Regions from separate parts of the Homo sapiens genome. Here region 2 is linked to region 1. Evidence: promoter capture Hi-C in 16 types of primary human blood cells and fetal thymus (Javierre and others, 2016). All regions are on one chromosome and are shown on one strand. Each heading gives the region's core, a stretch centred on a gene start or on the middle of the fragment in contact. The rest is flanking DNA. Distances are from core to core; before and after follow the strand shown.

Evidence for each region. The method cuts DNA at HindIII sites, captures the fragments that hold promoters and counts their contacts. A CHiCAGO score of 5 or more calls a contact.
Region 2: a contact is called between the fragment with the promoter of KRTAP5-4 here and the fragment with the promoter of TH in region 1, in 4 of 17 cell types (M2 macrophages, M1 macrophages, M0 macrophages and 1 more). The highest score is 10.3, in M2 macrophages.

Annotation. Positions count from the first base shown.
Region 1 is chr11:2,170,399-2,173,172 of GRCh38, reverse strand. It overlaps TH (tyrosine hydroxylase), which reads left to right and starts at 1,358. Exons shown (of 13, transcript NM_000360.4): 1 at 1,358-1,476. The coding sequence starts at 1,387. It overlaps MIR4686 (microRNA 4686), which reads right to left and starts at 110; the gene lies at 35-110. The HindIII fragment of the contact is 9,589 bases long and covers 1-2,774 here.
Region 2 is chr11:1,620,724-1,623,497 of GRCh38, reverse strand. It overlaps KRTAP5-4 (keratin associated protein 5-4), which reads left to right and starts at 1,360. Exons shown (of 1, transcript NM_001347674.1): 1 at 1,360-2,540. The coding sequence starts at 1,405. The coding sequence ends at 2,091. The HindIII fragment of the contact is 2,450 bases long and covers 984-2,774 here.

The DNA of each region.
Region 1 (2,774 bases), core at 109-2,608:
GGGGTAGGCCTTCGAGAAGTCAGGGAGCGTCTAGGGCTTCTGGCTCCTGCTGGGCCCAGGGTGTCATCTTGGGCTGCCAACACCAGAAAGCCCAGCAGATACAGGAAGCCCCAAGCCCTGTCGGAAACGGTTCTTCTCCAGGAGGGACAGCGGTGGCAGCGTTCAGCCGCAGGCCATGCACTCTGGGGCCACGTCCTTCCCTCTGTACAGTCCAGCATTGTCAAGGCAGGCTCTGGCCATCTCTGCTGACCCCAGAGGGATGGGGAGGCCTCCCCTTCCACCAGAAGGGCCAGAAGCCACCCTGGGCAGGGGCATCACTCTCCCTGGGTGGGGCAGCGGCTGGGAGCAGGAGGTGCCAGTGGGCGTGGGCTGGATGCGGGTGCCTGCGGGGCGGACATGGAACTTGGGGGAGGCTCTAGGCTGGGGTTGTCCTCAAGGGAGTTCTCAGGTCACCCCAGGGTCACCCTCAACCCGGGGCCTGGTGGGGTAGAGGAGAAACTGCAAAGGTCTCTCCAAGGGGAAGGCATCAGGGCCCTCAGCACTGAGGGACGTGCGTGCTCTTTAAAGAAGGGGCCACAGGACCCCGAGGGAAGCCAGGAGCTAGCAGTGGGCCATAGAGGGGCTGAGTGGGGTGGGTGGAAGCCGTCCCTGGCCCTGGTCGCCCTGGCAACCCTGGTGGGGACTGTGATGCAGGAGGTGGCAGCCATTTGGAAACGCGTGGCGTCTCCTTAGAGATGTCTTCTTCAGCCTCCCAGGGTCCTCCACACTGGACAGGTGGGCCCTCCTGGGACATTCTGGACCCCACGGGGCGAGCTTGGGAAGCCGCTGCAAGGGCCACACCTGCAGGGCCCGGGGGCTGTGGGCAGATGGCACTCCTAGGAACCACGTCTATGAGACACACGGCCTGGAATCTTCTGGAGAAGCAAACAAATTGCCTCCTGACATCTGAGGCTGGAGGCTGGATTCCCCGTCTTGGGGCTTTCTGGGTCGGTCTGCCACGAGGTTCTGGTGTTCATTAAAAGTGTGCCCCTGGGCTGCCAGAAAGCCCCTCCCTGTGTGCTCTCTTGAGGGCTGTGGGGCCAAGGGGACCCTGGCTGTCTCAGCCCCCCGCAGAGCACGAGCCCCTGGTCCCCGCAAGCCCGCGGGCTGAGGATGATTCAGACAGGGCTGGGGAGTGAAGGCAATTAGATTCCACGGACGAGCCCTTTCTCCTGCGCCTCCCTCCTTCCTCACCCACCCCCGCCTCCATCAGGCACAGCAGGCAGGGGTGGGGGATGTAAGGAGGGGAAGGTGGGGGACCCAGAGGGGGCTTTGACGTCAGCTCAGCTTATAAGAGGCTGCTGGGCCAGGGCTGTGGAGACGGAGCCCGGACCTCCACACTGAGCCATGCCCACCCCCGACGCCACCACGCCACAGGCCAAGGGCTTCCGCAGGGCCGTGTCTGAGCTGGACGCCAAGCAGGCAGAGGCCATCATGGTAAGAGGGCAGGTAGGTGCCCGGCGGCCGCAGTGGACCGGAGCCCAGGGCTGGTGCCAGCTGCCTCTGCTACTCCCCAGCCTGGCTGGCAGCCCCAGGCTCAGGGTCCATGCAAACCCCTGGGACGCGGCGTGGATGTGGAGGCCTGGGCACAGCGGCATCCCCTGTGCCTGGTGTTTGAGTCCCTGTTGGGGGAGGGTGAGGTGATGCCTGTCCCTGTGTGTGCCCCTCTTAGGCCGACCTCTCTCGGGGGTCGTGTGGGTCTCTGTGTCTTGTTTCATCTTGAATCTTAACGATCGGAATGTGGAAACAAATCCATCCAAAAAATCCAAGATGGCCAGAGGTCCCCGGCTGCTGCACCCAGCCCCCACCCTACTCCCACCTGCCCCTGCCTCCCTCTGCCCCAGCTGCCCTAGTCAGCACCCCAACCAGCCTGCCTGCTTGGGGAGGCAGCCCCAAGGCCCTTCCCAGGCTCTAGCAGCAGCTCATGGTGGGGGGTCCTGGGCAAATAGGGGGCAAAATTCAAAGGGTATCTGGGCTCTGGGGTGATTCCCATTGGCCTGTTCCTCCCTTATTTCCCTCATTCATTCATTCATTCATTCATTCATTCACCATGGAGTCTGTGTTCCCTGTGACCTGCACTCGGAAGCCCTGTGTACAGGGGACTGTGTGGGCCAGGCTGGATAATCGGGAGCTTTTCAGCCCACAGGAGGGGTCTTCGGTGCCTCCTTGGGCACTCAGAACCTTGGGCTCCCTGGCACATTTAAAATGGGTTTTTATTTATGGACCTTGATTGAAATGTGGTGTGAGTTGTAGCAGTGTCATTTCCAGGTACCTTCTCAGGGACACAGGGCGCCCTCCCCCGTCCTCCCCCGCCCTCCCCTACCCTCCCCCACCAGGCTCCCCATCAGGCATCCCCTCCCCAGGGCGCCCCGGGGCCCAGCCTCACAGGCTCTCCGTGGCCTGGAACTGCAGCCCCAGCTGCATCCTACACCCCCACCCCAAGGGTAAGTAAGAGGGGACTCTGGGAGGGGCTTCTGCTGCTCCCCTTCATGTTCCACAACCCTGGAAGCTCAGGATGAAGCTGATTCTTCTCTTACAAGGGGCCCAGAGCCTTCTTGGGAGTTCAGCTCCAAGGGATGAGCCCCAGGTGTCTGCCAAGTCCCCCTCTGTCCAGGCCTGGGACGGCTCTGGGATCGAGGGGTCAGAGGCGCTGAGCCCAGGGAGAGACACCTGCGCCCAGAGCTATGACAAAGGGTGGAGGGATGACAAGGCAGCCAGGAGCGGGCGCCTGCGGG
Region 2 (2,774 bases), core at 111-2,610, 550 kb after region 1:
AGCTGGGACTACAGGCGTCTGCCACCACGCCCGGCTAATTTTTTTTTGTATTTTTAGTAGAGACGGGGTTTCACCATGTTAGCCAGGATGGTCTCGATCTCCTGACCTCGTGATCCGCCCGCCTGGGCCTCCCAAAGTGCTGGGATGACAGGCGTGAGCCAGCGCGCCCGGCTGAAAGACATTCATTTTTATACCATCTAATAATGTTGGCGAGGCTAAAAATGACAATTAAGACAAAGTGAGAATGGCTTTTAAAAACGTCAGAAATTAAACTCAAGTACATGCCTGTGGAAAAACAAAGTACACTGTTTGAACACAAGGGATTTGTTCTCTCAATATCCAAATAACTTTTAAAGCAGTAATGAGAAGTCAAAAAGGTATAAATTTTTTTTTTTTTTTTTTGAGACGGAGTCTTGCTCTGTCGCCCAGGCTGGAGTGCAGTGGCATGATCTCGGCTCACTGCAAGCTCCACCTCCCAGGTTCACACCATTCTCCTGCCTCAGCCTCCTGAGTAGCTGGAACTACAGGCGCCCGCCACCACGCCCGGCTAACTTTTTGTACTTTTAGTAGAGACGGGGTTTCACCATGTTAGCCAGGATGTTCTCGATCTCCTGACCTCGTGATTCGCCCACCTTGGTCTCCCAAAGTGCTGGGATTATAGGTGTGAGCCACTGTGCCTGGCCAATAAAAAAGTATATAATTTATATTGGAGTAAAAGAATCACCCTCACTAATAGTTAATTGAAGAGATTAACAACAGGATGATAAATGAGATCCCCCATCCACCCATGAAATTCCTGAGATTTTTAACATAAACAATACTCACCACGTGAGGCTGTGTATGCAGCAGCCAGGAGTCCTGAGCACCCCACGACCTGAGGCTGGCGGAGGAGAGATTCACTGCAGTGCACCAATGTGTTAAGACAGAACCAAGATACAACGTTGGTTCCTCAATTAGCCTCTTTAATTATATGGATGAAAGCTTAGTTTTTAAAAAATTATCTTCACACAAAGTTCACAGTTTCAAAGAAAAATATAATGCCATAGGTGGGAAGAAAAGATGGGAAGAAAACAACCAAAATGATCTTTGTAGAAAACCCATCCTCTGCCCATCACATGAGGAAAACAGAAGGCAGGTGATCAGTTCAGTACAAGGTCCAGTTCCAAGGAGGAAGTGACTACATTTAGAAACATAAGCAGGTGGGTGTTGGATCAGGCCAATGAGAACCCGAAGTCCAGCAAACAAATAATCACATACCCAGGAAGTGCTGGGAATGATGGAGTGACCAAGGTCTCAGAGCAACCCTACCCAGGGATATAAGGGGGTCCAGGCTCAGGGGGCTCCACACCTGCACCTCCATCTCATCTGCTCCTCTACCTGCTCCACCCTCAATCCACCAGAACCATGGGCTGCTGTGGCTGCTCTGGAGGCTGTGGCTCCGGCTGTGGGGGCTGTGGCTCCGGCTGTGGGGGCTGTGGCTCTGGCTGTGGGGGCTGTGGCTCCGGCTGTGGGGGCTGTGGCTCCGGCTGTGGGGGCTGTGGCTCCAGCTGCTGTGTGCCCATCTGCTGCTGCAAACCTGTGTGCTGCTGTGTGCCAGCCTGTTCCTGCTCCAGCTGTGGCTCCTGTGGGGGCTCCAAGGGGGGCTATGGCTCTTGTGGGGGTTCCAAGGGGGGCTGTGTCTCCTGTGGGGGTTCCAAGGGGGGCTGTGGCTCCTGTGGGGGCTCCAAGGGGGGCTGTGGCTCCTGTGGGGGTTCCAAGGGGGGCTGTGGCTCCTGTGGGGGCTCCAAAGGAGGCTGTGGCTCTTGTGGCTGCTCCCAGTGCAGCTGCTGTAAGCCCTGCTGCTTCTCTTCAGGCTGTGGGTCATCCTGCTGCCAGTCCAGCTGCTGTAAGCCCTGCTGCTCCTCCTCAGGTTGTGGGTCATCCTGCTGCCAGTCCAGCTGCTGCAAGCCCTACTGCTGCCAGTCCAGCTGCTGTAAGCCCTGCTGCTCCTCCTCAGGTTGTGGGTCATCCTGCTGCCAGTCCAGTTGCTGCAATCCCTGCTGCTCCCAGTCTAGTTGCTGTGTCCCTGTGTGCTGCCAGTGTAAGATCTGAGGCTCTGGACTCAGGCCTCATGTGAGTCCTGCTAATCCTGTCTTCCAAAGCTGTGACCTGTCCTTCATTGTTGAGCCCCAAATCATTGCTCAGGGTCCATTCCCTGCTGTAGAACGATGCCATATCTGGCTGCCTTTTCCTAAGAAGAGTCCACCCTAATTAATGTCCATTGTCTCTCCTAACAAATTCTCTCCCCAAGTCAACTGCAATTGCAGCTGAATCACCCCTCACCCACTAGCCTCGCCTTTGCTCATCTTTTCAGAGGCCTGAGCTCCTGAACCCACTTGCAGTCCTGTCTTTTCCAGCTGGAGCAGCTGGGCATAAGCGTCCCACCTGCAACAAGGTGGGCGTTTAAGAGGCTTCCTTGGAGTGGCTTTGCATGTCCAACACTCTGCTGTATCTTTTTTTTTTTTTTTTTTTTTTTGAGATGGAGTCTCGCACTGTCACCCAGGCTGGAGTGCAGTGGCACCATCTCGGCTCACTGCAAGCTCCGCCTCCCGGGTTCACTCCATTCTCCTGCCTCAGCCTCCCCAGTAGCTGGGACTACAGGTGCCCGCCACCACGCCCGGCTAATTTTTTTTTTATTATTATTAGTAGAGACAGGGTTTCACCATGTTAACCAGGATCACACTGCTTTATCTTAAACAGAAAGTTGCAAACTAATAAAAATACCATGCCGACAA